Linked DNA regions of Homo sapiens: region 2 is linked to region 1. Evidence: promoter capture Hi-C in human tissues and cell types (Jung and others, 2019). All regions are on one chromosome and are shown on one strand. Each heading gives the region's core, a stretch centred on a gene start or on the middle of the fragment in contact. The rest is flanking DNA. Distances are from core to core; before and after follow the strand shown. Region 1 holds the start of DMRTA2 (DMRT like family A2). Region 2 overlaps FAF1 (Fas associated factor 1).

Region 1 (7,319 bases), core at 621-3,120:
GAGACCTGGTGAGGAGCACACCGCGCGCTAGGCCAAAGCGCCGCCTTGAGGAACCCAAGCTGGAGAGGGAAATTTGGGCCGCGGAGGCTGGGCTAGAGGGGCCAGAATTGCTGGGAGGAGGTGCAGTCGGAACCTCCTTGTGAGCCCTAGCACCTTCACCCCAGTCTGGCCATGGCTGCTCTTAGACCTGATATACACGCTAGGGGTAAGATTTTGTCTGAATTAGTGATTCCGCTGGAAAAAATAAAGAGACATGTAAAGTGTGAAAGTCACTGATTCAGATGGCTGTAATGAGAATTTGGAAAAGTTAAGATGATACCCCAAAGCTTAGCCTAATTGGGGTGAGACGGGTGAGAGAAATGCTCGTTTGACGGGACTGGGATTAGAGCGACAGTTTTGGCCCAGAAGTTAGGCTGATGCCAAGGGCAAAACAGGAAAACCCGGAGCAAAACGGTCAGTTTGGTGGAAGGGTGAAGAGGAGAGAGATGTGAAGGCGCAGATGTGAAGGCCGGTTGGGCCGGAGTTTTGTTTCTTTTTGTTTGTTTATTTTTAATGCAGTTTGGGGCAGAAGCTTTGGAGAGAAAAATCAACAACAGAAAGAATAGCTTTAGGAAGCAGAGTGAGGACGAGGAAACAACTTGGGCAAAGTTAGGCCCAGTGGCTCTGGGACCCGTAAAAATGTGAGCGCCAAAAGTTCCACGGTGAGGGCCTCCAGAGAGTGAGAGACAAAATGTATGTGGAATTTAGCTTAGGACTGGGAAGTATTAAAGAGAAAAATTCGGCCAAAGAAACTTTCTGTATAGGCAAACCCAGCCCAAAGATGAGCTTCATGGGCAAGGAAAACAGTGAAAAGCAGCTGATCTGGGTGTCCGGGATCCAGGGGCCGCGCCTGGGAGAGGGGAATGTGTAAGAAAAAACCCCACAGGCAAATGCTGGGGGAGGGGATTGGGTAAAACCTGTGGTGCAGTTTTTTAGCTTCGCAGTCTGGAGTAGTAGTCGGGGCGGAAGACGTATCCTGCGAAAAGTTAGGCATTTCGGGAGGGGGATCTTTCTCGAAGACCACCTCACACTGCCCTCCCCTCCCCTCCGGGTTTAGGGACAGAGTCGTCAGACACGCCCTCCCCGTCTTGGGGTCCCAGGGGACCCCTCTCGAGCGCAGGCTCCTGCGTTCTGATCTCAGAGTTGGGGTCCTAGGACACGGATGGCCCAGCAGGCCGCACCAAGCCAGGGGAGTCGCCTTCGCAACTGGCCATAAACGGACACCAGAGTCCCTCCCACGCCGCAGCCCCATAAGGCCCAAGCAGGCCCAGCTCCCCGCTTCTGCCGCGGTCTCCTCTGCTTCCCGCGTTCCCCGTCCCTGCCAGAGCCCGCGACAGAGTCCTTGTGTCTCCGTCCGAGAGTCCCAGACCTCCTCTCTATGAGCGTTGCCTCCTCTCCCAGACCCTTCGGGCGTCCCTAAGGCCCACGGGGCCCAGGCCTCCTCAACAGGGGCCGCAGACCAGGTCTCCACCCACTGCTCTCCCTGCGGCCCTCAACTACCTGCCTTGGGCTCCGGGATCCTCCTCCTCCGCTGGCGCTGCACGCGCCTCCCGGCTCCACTGGCGACGCTGGAGCTCTTGGCCGCTTCCCTTTGCCCCCGGCCCCTTATCTGACCACGTCACCCTCCTTCAGTCACCATGTCCGAACTTCCGGACCCCTCAGAACGCAGCGCAGTCCAACCCTCCCTTCAGAAATCCGGGTCGGAGGCTCGTCTGCGGGCCGCGTGGTTGGAACCCGCGACCTGACTCTCGCCGTGCCGGGTCCCCTCGCGGTGCGCGCCGGACGCTGCGCGCAGCCGGGGCCCAGTTGCCCGGCGCTGCCAGACTCTCAATGAGCCGCTCGCCCGCTCTATTGTTGGTCCTTAGGGCTCCATTAGACAGAATTGGACAACAATGTGGCGCCTGCCATTGGCCAGGGGAGGCAGACGGCGCTCTGATTGGCCGGGCCCGCGCCCGGGGAGCCCCGCATTCTGCAGTGTCCGAAAGATTCGAAACTCCAAAAGCTCCACTGCGTGCCTCTGGGAGGGGAGGGGGCGCGCCAGGAAAGGAGTGGAAAAAAGTGGGCGAGGAGGAGCGTTGAAAATTTCCTGACAAGTAGTTTCCGTGCGCCCGAGAGCGTGTGAATTGCTCCTAATTACCGTGTCCGGTGCGCCTCTCTGCGTAGACTTGTGTAACCTCTCGGCTTCTGGGGCGCCGGCTCGGCTGCACCGCTCTTACTGGCCTGGGGCGCTTGGCAAAGCCGAGCTTCCCAAGTGGCTCTGGAGCCCTGAGGCGGGATGGGGGGCAGGTGACAATTCAATTACTGCGGTCGGGGTAGGGGCGGGACAAGGGTGCGGGGGTGGGGAAGGGAGGGTGTTCAAGGCATAAATGCCAGGACGATTTTTCCTGCCTTCTTCCTGCTATGTTTCGGCGCGCTCCCAAATCCGACGAGTTTGGGGTAGTTGGGGGCTGCTTTGGTTTTTTCCTCCTGTCTCCTTAAAGCTCAGTTACTTTATTTTAAAAGTCCTGATACGATAGTCATCCTGGAGGGTAAGTGTGGTTTATGAAGATTTTCGTGTTTAAAGAGAAGCTCAGCGAAGAGAAATGAGATTGCACTTCCTGTCGGTGCCCGCCACGTCCCTCGCGCCCTGAGCCTTTCCTCTCCCCGCCCCTCTTTTCGCGTCCCTCAGCCCCTTTTGAGCTCTCTTTTCCTCACTTTTCAGCATCTCGATTTCTTTTCCGTGGTGGTGGGATTCTTTTTGTCGTTATTGCAAATGAACAAATAGCCCCCCCCCCTTTTTTTTTCTTTTCTAAACGAAAGTAAAAAGTGGCCTCTGTGTCTCCGCAGATTCTCTTAAACTCAGGACGCGCATCGGTCTGTCCGACCTTCCCGGCAAGAGACAAAGTCACTGCTGGGAGGCCCCCTCGGACAGTTTTCAGTTTTAACTTTCGCCTTATTCTCGTCTTGTCTTGATGTCACGGCCCTGAGGAACAGCTCGTTCTGCAGAAGAGGTAACAGGTTTCAGATTTTGTTTCCTTTTTGAAAGGCTGTTGCCTTTCAAACATCTGGAATTAATGCCGCGGCCCTCGGGCGAGTCGCCCTCGGTTTCTGTAGCTCTGATTTTATCTCTGTGTCTTTTCCCCTCTAATTTCTAAAGTTCTGTTTTTCCCTCTAATTCTGTTTTTCCCTCTAATTTCTAATGTTCTGTCACTCTCGTTTTTGTTCTCTACTTTTCTCTCTCTCCTTCAGAATAAAGAAAATTCGTTTAAATAATGAGGAAAATGAGCGTTCCTGTCGTTCTCCCTCCACTCTTGACCGTGCGTCTCTGCGTTGCTCTTTCGAACCTCCAGGCCGGCGGGAATCTGGGCGCGCAGACTCGGCCCGGGTCGTCGCGGCCTCAGGACGCAGCCCATTCCGCCTGGCACGACTACTGGGCCGCGTCTTGTCAGTCTATCAGCTTCTGAGCCCAGGAATGGGGGTGGGGGAAGGACGGTGCGACTAACGGGCCCCCACCCGAAGACCGCAGAACCTGGCGCCCCGGAAGAGCCCTGGAAGATGCCCACCGGGAGGCTGAGGCTGGAGGGAGGAGTGGGTGGGGGTGATTCGCTGGAGGACCGGGCGGAGAGCTTCCAGAAAGTTCACCAGGCCCCGGCGCGAGGGCGCTCCGACACGGACAAGGTCTATGATAGCGATAAAAAGCTGGTTACTCGCTCCCAGAAAATGCCACTTGCTGGAGTCTGTGAATGGGTTTAGGAGAGAGAAGGGTGTCAGCCCCCGCGAGGGTCTCCCGCGTGAAGTGAGGATAAGGGAGTGCTTCAGGGATAATATGTCCTCTAGGAGCGCAGGACCCAGACCCCACCTTCCAACACCTGGAGGTTCCGAGGCCAAGTATGTCTAGCCCCGGCTGCACCTGGGTAGGTGAGCCATGGGGTCGGGGGAAGAGCGCCGACAACCGCCGGATTCCGCGCAGGGGCCGCCAGGCGCCTGCTCCCAGAGCTCCTTTGGACAAAGTTTTCGGGAAATTCTATTAAACCGAAAACGAAATAAACTATACAAATCTGCCTAGCTTTTGAGGGGGCGGTGGCCCAGGTATCCTTCTCGCTTGAGGCCAGGTCACCGTGAGATTTCCCCACTCCGGACCGGGGATCCCGCAGAAGCCAAGGGTGTAGCCACGAGGACTCGGGAACCCGAGGCGGCCCAGCAGATGCGTGAGGAACTTCATTTTCTCAGGAGTGGGAGGAGGAGCATCCTGGCATCTAACACAGCCCAACCAGAGGGAATCCGCCCAACCCCTAGTGGCGGCATCTCACTCTTCTCTCGCTCCTCTTTTCTGGCATTCACATCCCCACAGGTCTGAGACCCACAGCCTTTTCTCCCACTCCCCGGAGGTTAGGGTGTTCATGTGAGTGAATGTGTTATGGAGGGAGGCAAAATAAACCCGTTATGGAGGGAGGGCAAATAAACCCAAGGTCATCTCACCCACACTTCGACAGGGCAGGATATCCTCTGCCCAGCTTCCCAGGCCGCTCCAGGGCCAGTTCCTCCTGATTTGGATTGGGTTGGTCGGAGGGGAAAGCAAGGGCATGGCCCAACTGAGCCACCAGCACTAGTAGAGCACGCCCAGGTTGAGGCAGCAGGGTCTACCCCCTTCCCAACCTGAGTGTAGCTTCACACTTGGACACACCCCCTCCCACGTGCGTGTGACCACTCTCTGCAAAGTTTGGGACACACTCTCACGCCAGCATTCAGAGAGCACCACCGGGCCCAGGCTCAACTCTGATGCTACCCTCCGGCTCAAGGGGACCCCTTCAGTGAGTTTGACCTCACAGTGTTCTTATAAGCATGTCCCCATCCTGGGCCATCCACTTGGTGTGTGACATTCCCAGACTCCCACAGATTTCCACCTCGGTGATAGCACACGCCGACAGGAGCACATTCTTACGCAGGTATGCCCTGGTTTATGCGCGGAGCTCCAGTCTTACTTCTACAGTTGGGCCCCGGGCAGAAAAAGCCAAAACCCTCCGGGACAAATGAGGCGGCTGAGAGCAGAGGGTCTTCCTCACACATCCACACGCGTACTCTTAGCTCAGAATCATTTGCTGACGCCTCTGCTGTGCCAGGGGCTGGGGGCCCGGGTGAGAGGGCCCAGCCAAGAAAATCCACCCCATCCCTATTCGCCCCCGGCCCCATCCCCCACGCCCACGCCCAGGAACTGGTGGCGTCCAAAGGGACTGCGTTGGGGTGAGGCCGGGGTTGAGGGCCTAGGGCGCAGAGCCGGCTGGAGACGCGGCGTGGGGAAGGGGGCCGAGGGTGAGTAGTGTAGCTCTGAGTAAAAGAGCCAGGGGCGCCGATGGGGGACCCGGGAGGCATTGACTTTTGCGCTGTTTGCCCGCGGCCTCGGAGCAAGCAGACGCCATCTGTTTGCCGGCTGCGACGCGTCCCGTTTAATTACCCTCCCGGCAGCCTAATAGAGATGATATTAAACTAAATCTTTCTGACATTAAAAGTAATTATCCCCAAACCGGTGGCTCCGGGACGGAATGGCCCCTCCCGCACCCACCCCTTCCCTGGCCGCGCCGGATTCCGTTAGTTTGGCTGATACTCTCCGCCCGGGAATGGGGCGCAGAGGAAAGGGGGAAAGTGCCTTTGGGAGAAGGAATCTCCACGGGTTGCCCTACACGCGTTTTCCCGCACAACCACAGACTCTCCTGTTCCTATGTGAACACACGCACGTGTACACACAGACACGTAGCGACATTTTCCTCCAGATCAACTCATGAGTCATGCTGATGAAGACCCTCAGCCGCGCACACCCTCTGTGGACAGGGAGACGCGCAGCTTGGTTTCCTGTCCCCGTCCTCTGACACCGCTAAAATGGTCATTTTCCGTGGTCATAGCCACGGATCTATGCCACGACCTGGGACCGGGCATAATTTCGGAGCCAGAAAGTACTCCTGTGGTGGCGCCGGGTTTCTCAGGCGCTCTTCCAGCTAAGGGCCAGGAGCCCAGCGATTTCCCTACAGTTGCTTACTGAAGTCGCACCATTCTCTGCGAGGCAGGTCCGATTATTCCACTTGTCAGGTGAGAAAACAGACTCGGAGAGGTGAGATGACTTGTTCCACATTATCACAATTAGTGAGTAACAGTGCAAAAATCAAACCCGGGAGTACCCTCATCCAAAGCCAGGTCTGTCTGCACAGTGCAGGCGCAGCGGGCGCTGCGAATCGGCTCCTGGCCCAATGCACCCCTCCACACCCGTTGGCCGGGAACCCGCTGGTGCTCAGCTTCTATCCGGACCCCGGACCTAAAGGCCGGGCAGAACAACCAACTGAAGGTGGAGGAGCGAGGGCACTGGTGCTGATTGAGCGGCAGGAGCCCCCGAGGCGGAGTCCCAGCGGCTGCAGCCCTCCTTTGGATCAAGCCCTCGCGTCTTCCGGGCAGGCGGAAGGGAGGCGTCTGCCCAGTGTCGCCAGGCTTCTCACGATTTTCTGGTTGGGAGCATCTAAGCCTGAGACAAACGCATGGAGAGCGGTGTTCACCGCCCCACTATTTGTTTCTATTTGTGAGCGTCTACTGAGTACAGCCACTCTGATAAACACTCGGTGTGTGCTCTCTTGCTTGGCACGCAGTCCTTGGGGGAAGATGCGATGTTCCACATTTCAGACACGAGGTAGCCAAAGTTCAACAAGGCGACATAACTTGCCTGGGGCCAGAGTGCTGCCGAACTTCGAAAAAGACAGAAATCCAGATCCAACTCCCACTCTTAGGTTTTTTTCTCCTCACCTTCCGTTCCGAGTGGGTAGGATCAGACCTAGGGGCTTCCATTTGGTTCGATTCCATTCAGTTCACTAATCATTCACAGAAACATGAAAGTAGGAGTCATTCATTCATTCACTTATTAATTCGTTTATGTAACAGCATTTGTTGAGCATCTAGTATGTGCCAAGCTCTACGGATCCGAGACAAATCAACCATAATGGGCCCTTACAGAACTTGTTAGCCAACTGGGGACACAGTCACCTATCAATGACCTCACAGTGAGAAGTCTAATCTTGGGAATGGGGGAAGGAGAATGAGGGGAAACTTCCCCAAGAAAGGGACCTCTGATGTGAGAGGTTAGGTTTCCCAAAAGGAAACACTGTTATTGCTTGTTCTGATAGAATAAAAGTCTTATAAAACATTTTAGAAAATTCAGCAAAATATATTTGGTGAATTTTGCTAATTTTTTTTCCTGTTTACCTACACTGACAAAAATATACTTTACAGTACTTGGTTTTTGTTTACAAATATAAGGATTTTAA
Region 2 (7,256 bases), core at 2,372-4,871, 280 kb after region 1:
TGTAAATAATTTTCTACATGCAGGCCTTATCTTAATATGCCAAGTCTTGGTCCAGCTTATATTTATGAGCACTTTATATTCACTTACCCATCCTTTGGTTTAATTTCTTGTGTGTGTGTGTGTGTTTGTTTTACAGAGGGTTGGGGAGGAATGAAGAGGTTGGTTACTATTTCTTATCTTAGGACTAGAAGATAGTTAAACATTAAAATAGTTCTCAGCTTAAGTAATGTGGTACTTACCACATCTATGAAGAAATTATAGCCTTTCCCAACACATACCCTAGGAAAATAACCTTGTCTCTGGCATTCAGGAATCTAGGAGTTAATATTTTAATACTGAAAAAGAAAAACCTCTTCTTCATGCATGAGGAGCACTGTCTCTGTGAAACCAAAGAATCAGCCCCATCTAAGTAAGTGACTACATGGTCATGATCAATCCACTTCTGCTAACTGAGGTTCTGCCTTTAAAGATAGCTTTTTATTGTACCTACAAGAAAGAAATCTAGTACCTTTACCTTTATTTTAAATGGTCTGCTGCAAAAAATTTTTTGCAGTGAGTTTTTCTTAATCTTTCATATTTTTTCTTGAAATGTTTTTCTCCCCAAGGATATCAATTCATTAATGCCTCATTACTTACAAATTTCATTGTATATTTTGCTGGTGGAAGGTTTGGGAATTCTCCTTATATCCCTCCTCACCCTATAACTTACATTTCAATGAGCACTCCCAAAGTATGAGTACATTAATATGAATCAAATTTTATTTTAAATATATAAAAGGCATGCTACCTTCTTAAATGAAGTCTTTAAGAAATAAAAAAGATTTTTGGGGTTGCTTGTGCATTTCTGTGTTTTATTTTCTAAAAATGTAATTAAAACTTATTGACATAAAAAGCTTATTGATGCAATATGCCTTTTAAAATATAAATTCTAGACATTAATTTGAAGAGACGATACAAACTTTAAGAAGACTATGAAACATTTACAATTATCATGATGAACTATTGGTATGATTTTGTTGTATTCTTTGATAATAGCTATAATTAAAATTAAAATGAACATGGTGGCGGTAATATATGCCATCAAACAAAAGTAAACAATGCCACTAAAATATATCACAAGAATTAAATTTAGAACTACAAAAACATAAAAAGCAGGTGATGTATATTCCTAAATTTGATTCCTTGTATCCTAACCCACATAGTTTACAATAAGAACTAATTATTTCACAGTCTTAGTATTCCAAATTACAGTACTATACATGAACAGCTTTAAGGATAAGGAATAACTATAAATTTGTACAAACTGGACAGGTTTTTTTAATCTCATAACTTTGGTTAATAATCAGAATTATGACAACAGAACTGTGTGAAAATATTGTTTGAAAGCATATTCCAAAGTAAGATTATTAATTATACAACTGCAATTCACACTTAATGTACTTTATTACATTACATATTTTTATAGGACCATCTAGAGATTTGCAAAAAATGGTTGGCTCAAATAAATGGTTCTCTTTTAAGTGCATTTTATCCCTTTAGGTTCACACAATAACAGCAATATATTTTTAAAGTATATATTTTACTCAAAAAATACATAAGTAAGTCAGAAACCAAAAGCTAACAGATGTGTGACTTCTAATTAGTTATAATAATCTCTGCTTCAATGCCATTAGAATGAGCCTTCCTTTTCTTTTGAAAACTAAAAAAGCTTTCCTTTGAATTTTAAACTGTCAGGGTGCTTCAAAGTCAATGTACAAAATCTGCTTTGATTAAAATTTTAGACATCTACAGTGATAACTTTATGAAAGGAAAATATTAAATTATAATTATCCTAAACAGACACAGTCTTGTGAAACTAACCCTACATTCATGTTAAAACACAAAGAGTTGAATATAATGAATTTGATTCATCCTCGGACACAAAGCTTCACCACAGTAAACTCAGTCAACTGTTGCTCTTGCGCCTATATTCATGGTGCTTAAATAGCGCACTTTAAAACAAAAAAAACTCCAATTGGCTTTTCATACATCCACCCTCCCCAAAAATAACGCACTTGAAAAACTCAAATGATATGAAAGGCTTCAAGGCCTCTTTTCTCCCTTTCATACCCCCCTTTTTTTTTTTATTTCTGTTTGCAGTAATCTGCCTTTCTCTTTCTCATTGCTACAGAGCAAGCGAGGAGGCTCAGAGCTTTGAAAAGGGGGCTGTGTGTAATGGGTCCACTAGAATTAATTTACTTGCACCAAATCCATTGAGCACAGAGGTTCTTTTCCCCCCTCTCTCTCTCTCTTCTCAAATCATTTGGAGTCGAACGCAGCCCCCGGCCTTTGTAATTCTAGTAAAGCACTTAAAGTGCACAGTAGGTGTTCATGAGGACCATCTGGTCAAAAGCAAAACAAGCTGCTGATTTTGCCTTTGAATAGAATGAAGCAAGTGTGAATTAGTCTCTTCAATTAGCACTATTACAACCTGTCAAGTGCATATTGTAAAACAGGATTATTACAGTATTGGTCACCAGTGCAATTATTTACTCTCTGCCTTTTCTTGCATATAAAAAAATCTTATGTTTATTAGTTTCTGATAACTGAACGGAATTTCTCTTAACCCAGGCATTTCAAAACTACCAACACATAAATCACAGATGATGAAATGTGGTCAGCTATCATGTTTGATACACATATCTTAAGTAACAAAAGGCTAAAGACTGTTCTTAATTCTTAAAATGTCATTGCTTCTATCGTCTTGAAATGCAGGTAGACAAATACTTATATGGGCCAAAAAAGATATCCAATCCAGATTATTCTAAAATAGTTCCAGAGAGGGGAAAAGACTTGTCAGTTCCAAAGAGCTGCATTATAAATATTAAATTTATTACTTCAGGGGATAATTTGTTAAGAATCACAGGAAACCTCAATATTTATAAAATGATCCCTACTGATTTATATTCATTTGAAGTGGTATGATTTCAACAGATCTCAGTTTTCAAATGCAACTTGAAACTAATAATATATATGCATATTTAAAAGATGCATAATCGTCTTTTCTGAAAGCTGAATAAAGGCTTGAATTCACTGCCCAGTTGCAGAAGAAATTATCTCTTTCATTCTTGCTAAAATGTCATTCGTGATTTCAAATTTTAAAAAATCAAACTATAATATATGTTAATTAAATTGGTTCATTCTAATTGATCCAATATATGCCATTTATCTTGCAGTAAAAACAAACCACTTACACTTTTAATTAAATAAGCACACAACTTAATTTACCCTCTTGCATATGCACATTCTCAGTTACCCTACTCTTACTTCAGTTCTGTGCCAGCAACCCCAACCCTCCCCATACTGGAAAACAAAACAAACAAACCAAAAAAAACACCCAATACTTTAAAACATTTACAGAAAGGCCATGTTAGTTAAGGAGTTATAGTCAACCCACTACTAGAACATCAATAATTAGCACAATCTGTGAAAGACTACATATTTTAATTACTGTTACTGGCCACCAGCATTAAAGGAGAATAGTCCAAAATATACGCTAGTCAAGCAAGTTAAGAAAGTAGCAAGTAGAATAATAGACACAACATACAAAATCCGACGTTAGGTTCAAATGCTCAGAATCAGAGTTAGCCTTATCATTATTTAGCCCAGATTATTTTTAAGGATTGGTATAATCTGTGTATTTAGTTCATTCAGTTCCTGAGACTTATTCAACTCTATTGGCTTCCCATTTAATCACTACTTTGTACAAACTGTAATAGTACTGAAATGTTTTACTACTCCCTGCAAGATATATCTTTATAGGTTGCCAATTTTCCCCTTTCATGCCATTAAGAACTAAATCAACAATAATAAGAACAGTGAGATTTCTGAGGTAAAGTGAAACTTGGAAGAGGATTTAAATAATTCCAATAGCTATTCATCATGCTTCTTGTTGTAACAGATAAGTAATACTCCATAATTCTGCACTAAAAATACTTAGGTTTCTTATTGTTATTCTGGGTCATGTGTATATTCCTTAAATTTATATGACATCTACAAAGAAAACAATATTTTGCCTAACAGAAGCTTCTGCAGTAGTAAGGCCGATAACAAAGAATCAGTTTCCAAGAAAAGTTGGCTTGATTTCAGAGACTTCATATCCTTTTCCACACCTGGGTTTTGGATTTGCTGAAAGCAAATCAATCTTTTTTCCCCTTAATTTAACCCACCCCAAGTGCATTTGTAACCACAGATCTTTAATAGTATTAGTGAGAATTACTAGAATCTGCACAATAAACTGTTGACAAATCTGAATTCTCAGCGTAAAAAAAATTCATTAAAATAAGGTAAGCCTGTTTAAATTTAAGGAAACTCACAATTTTAAAGTGTGACAAATAGTTAATTTAGGACCCAAAAAGGTTGAAAAGACAGACTATCACAGAGTTACTGTCACATTCTTTGATATTTTTTACAAGCTGTTTGGTCATAATGGAAAACAGAAAAGATTTTTCGTCTTTAAGACTACTTGCAACTCTCTCCATTCTGACCTTTTTATACTGTCACTGCTTTCTCCCCAACCAGGAGGATAATGTAACTGGAAGGATTTGTACAGAGTTTTAAAAAAACAAAATCAAAATGAAAACCCTCAATAACTAACTGGCTTAAATTAAAATCTAGAGCACCTAAAGGACACAAGTCACGCATTGTGAGGCAGCAGACCACAAAGCCAGAATGAACAAACACTTGTACAACTCTTGGTTTATCACCATTAACTTGCAATGACCATATGGTCATTGAATAGTTTATTTGAAATTCAAACTGCATTTTAGTTCTATTTTCTAACTCAGTATTTTAAAAAAATGTACTTTGTTCTAATTAAAAGTTGAAATCATAGTGCCTTTTTCAATCCTGTTTCATTTAATAGAAATTTCCCTCTGGGTGAAAAATAGTGCAAAGTTTTCTTTTAAAAATGCAAGGCTTTCAAAAATTAAAAAAAATATATATATAAAATACACTAAAAAAATGACCAGGAACCTTTGTGTTTTGAACATTTTTTCCTTTCCCTCAATTATATTAGTCAGGATTTATTCTTGGACCTATTAATACTGAAAAGAAATTCCTGAAACTGGTGAGATAGATTAATTTACAATTTAGCACATATGGTATCATTAAGCTTTCACATTAATAAAAGACAAATACTAGCATTATAAAATAAAACTACAAAATAGTTTCACAATTATATTTTTATCTTGATGCAATCAAACTAACTTTCCAATCATGCAACAAGAAAAAATGTACATACTTAAGTGTCATTGTGGATTGAATAGCTGTAGATAAGGGCACCTTGTCCTTCACCTGAAACTACCCCCTCCATCACAGGTGTTGCACAAGTTGAAGCAGAAAAGTCACAGAACTAGGCCCAGAGAGGTCCCACATCCTTTATCTAAGTTGTACAGAATAAAACAGCCTATGTGTACCTGTCTACTCACAGAGAAGCAAGTGACATAAGTAGCAACTGCATTTATTTGTTCCTGGCAAACTAGCATTTAAAAATATTATTTTAAATTAACTTAAAGGGAAAAAAAGGAAAAAGGAGAAGAAACCAAATTCTTGACAAGAAATACATAAGAATATCTGTCTTTGCAAAAATATTTCTGGAACATTTTTAAAATGACATTTAGAAAATGGTATAAAAAAGATTTACTGTTTTAAGTCCTTGAAGCTTAAGATATATTTGATAATCTACATAGCAGGCCACGGAGAACAGTTTCAGCCAACTGTGGCACACAATGGCACATTTACAGAATTTTAAATATTTCTTTTAATAATTGATGTAGTCATTTTGAATCATTCTGCATAGGATATCAGGTGTGAGCAGATTGCATTAACGCTGCTTAAACATTTCAACTTGTCAGTATGGCCAACTCGATTTCGGAAATATTTGCAGTATTTTCCCATCGAAACAGTAATAAAGGCAAAATAAATATATGCCACTACTTTATAATCACCGAACATTAATGAATATTTTATGTCTTTTTAAATCTCCCTGTTTAATTTAAAAGGGTGAAATTAAGTCTCCTCCCTGCAATATGCCAATTATCTGTAAATCAAACAATAACTTGGCCATTATGCTCCTTTTTGTTAATATAAGAGAAGCTAATTTGAAAACACTGAATAGCATTTTTAGGCTATCTGCTGAATAGTCCTTTCTGCCCTCTTGTGGGAGAAAGCTGAAACACACTCAAATAACAGAAACTAGGGGTGGGGGTTGAGAGGGTGGCAGCAAAATTATGGCTAGAAAATTCAACCCCGAAGGAAAAAAAGGCAAACTATATTTATTCATCATACATTATACTATTCTTCAATTATCAAGTCAGCAATAAAATGAATTTACCTCTTATCTTTGTCATGTTGGTTAAACTGAAGTTATTTTAAATCTAAATTTCCTTGTTTCATATATTCACATATACAATTTAGATTTTACTATCCTGTAAAATTTCAGATGCTATAATAACTCGGAGATGGAGCCACGGCAAAACATTATTTCTACCATAAAAACACAAATGATTCTTCAAGGAATTAAGTTTTTTAATTTAGAGAATAAAATACTCATTATGGAGGTTGAAAATGAAATTACAATTTATACATATTTAAAATCCTGAAAAAAAATTAAATAACGCAAACCTACAATTCAGTTTAGGAATCAGATCAGAAAAAAATTTTAAAGAGTTTAGTTTCTAGAGTCAACAAACTATTCAAGTAATCAATGAAGAAAATAAAGCAATGAGTTATTCATGTCAAATTCAGAAGCTGAAATTCATTAACACAATATAAAAAAGGAAACCATTAATAGTCTACAGAAACAGTTCATATATTTCTGAAAGAAAACACTAGGGTGAAAACTGGTTCTTTCAAAATGACATTAAGTGATTATTTTAAGAAATGTAGTCTAAGAAAAACATTATAAAATAATCCAAGATTAAGCATGATTAATTCTCTTTAGAAAAATTAGTAGACAAATGACTGTTGCTTTCATAACTTATAAGGTGTAATGCAACATAGTCATCATTTCAATGTTTCTAAACATAAGTCCTGTCATAGCCTTAAATGTTCCCCCCACCCTCCATGAAGATAGAATTACTAGCTTTTAGGTGGCTGGGGCCCAAGGCATACCAACAAGGTACCTCTTCTCTCTTGGGGGAGGTTCTCTTTTGAAACAGTGGCCCTGGTTGGTCGTGTTGAAGAAAATACTGACACTATAAATAGACTCTTCTCAT

What was found. Contacts are between HindIII fragments. The study calls those that stand out against the background at their distance.
Region 2: a contact is called between a fragment that was not itself captured here and the fragment with the promoter of DMRTA2 in region 1, in 1 of the 25 tissues and cell types used here (IMR-90 fibroblasts).

The regions. Positions count from the first base shown.
Region 1 is chr1:50,421,573-50,428,891 of GRCh38, forward strand. DMRTA2 (DMRT like family A2) reads right to left here and starts at 1,871. Exons shown (of 3, transcript NM_032110.3): 1 at 1,544-1,871. LOC105378714 (a long non-coding RNA gene) reads left to right here and starts at 1,974. Exons shown (of 3, transcript XR_947325.3): 1 at 1,974-2,325; 2 at 2,866-3,029; 3 at 3,268-3,300. RefSeq lists enhancers at 1-166, 4,878-5,871, 5,872-6,864 and a silencer at 2,994-3,053. The HindIII fragment of the contact is 21,358 bases long and covers 1-7,319 here.
Region 2 is chr1:50,698,038-50,705,293 of GRCh38, forward strand. All of the region lies in intron 7 of FAF1 (Fas associated factor 1), which reads right to left. Among named protein-coding and RNA genes, the nearest start is that of FAF1, 260 kb to the right of the region's middle. RefSeq lists enhancers at 1,486-3,077, 1,543-2,208, 2,209-2,873. The HindIII fragment of the contact is 3,610 bases long and covers 1,817-5,426 here.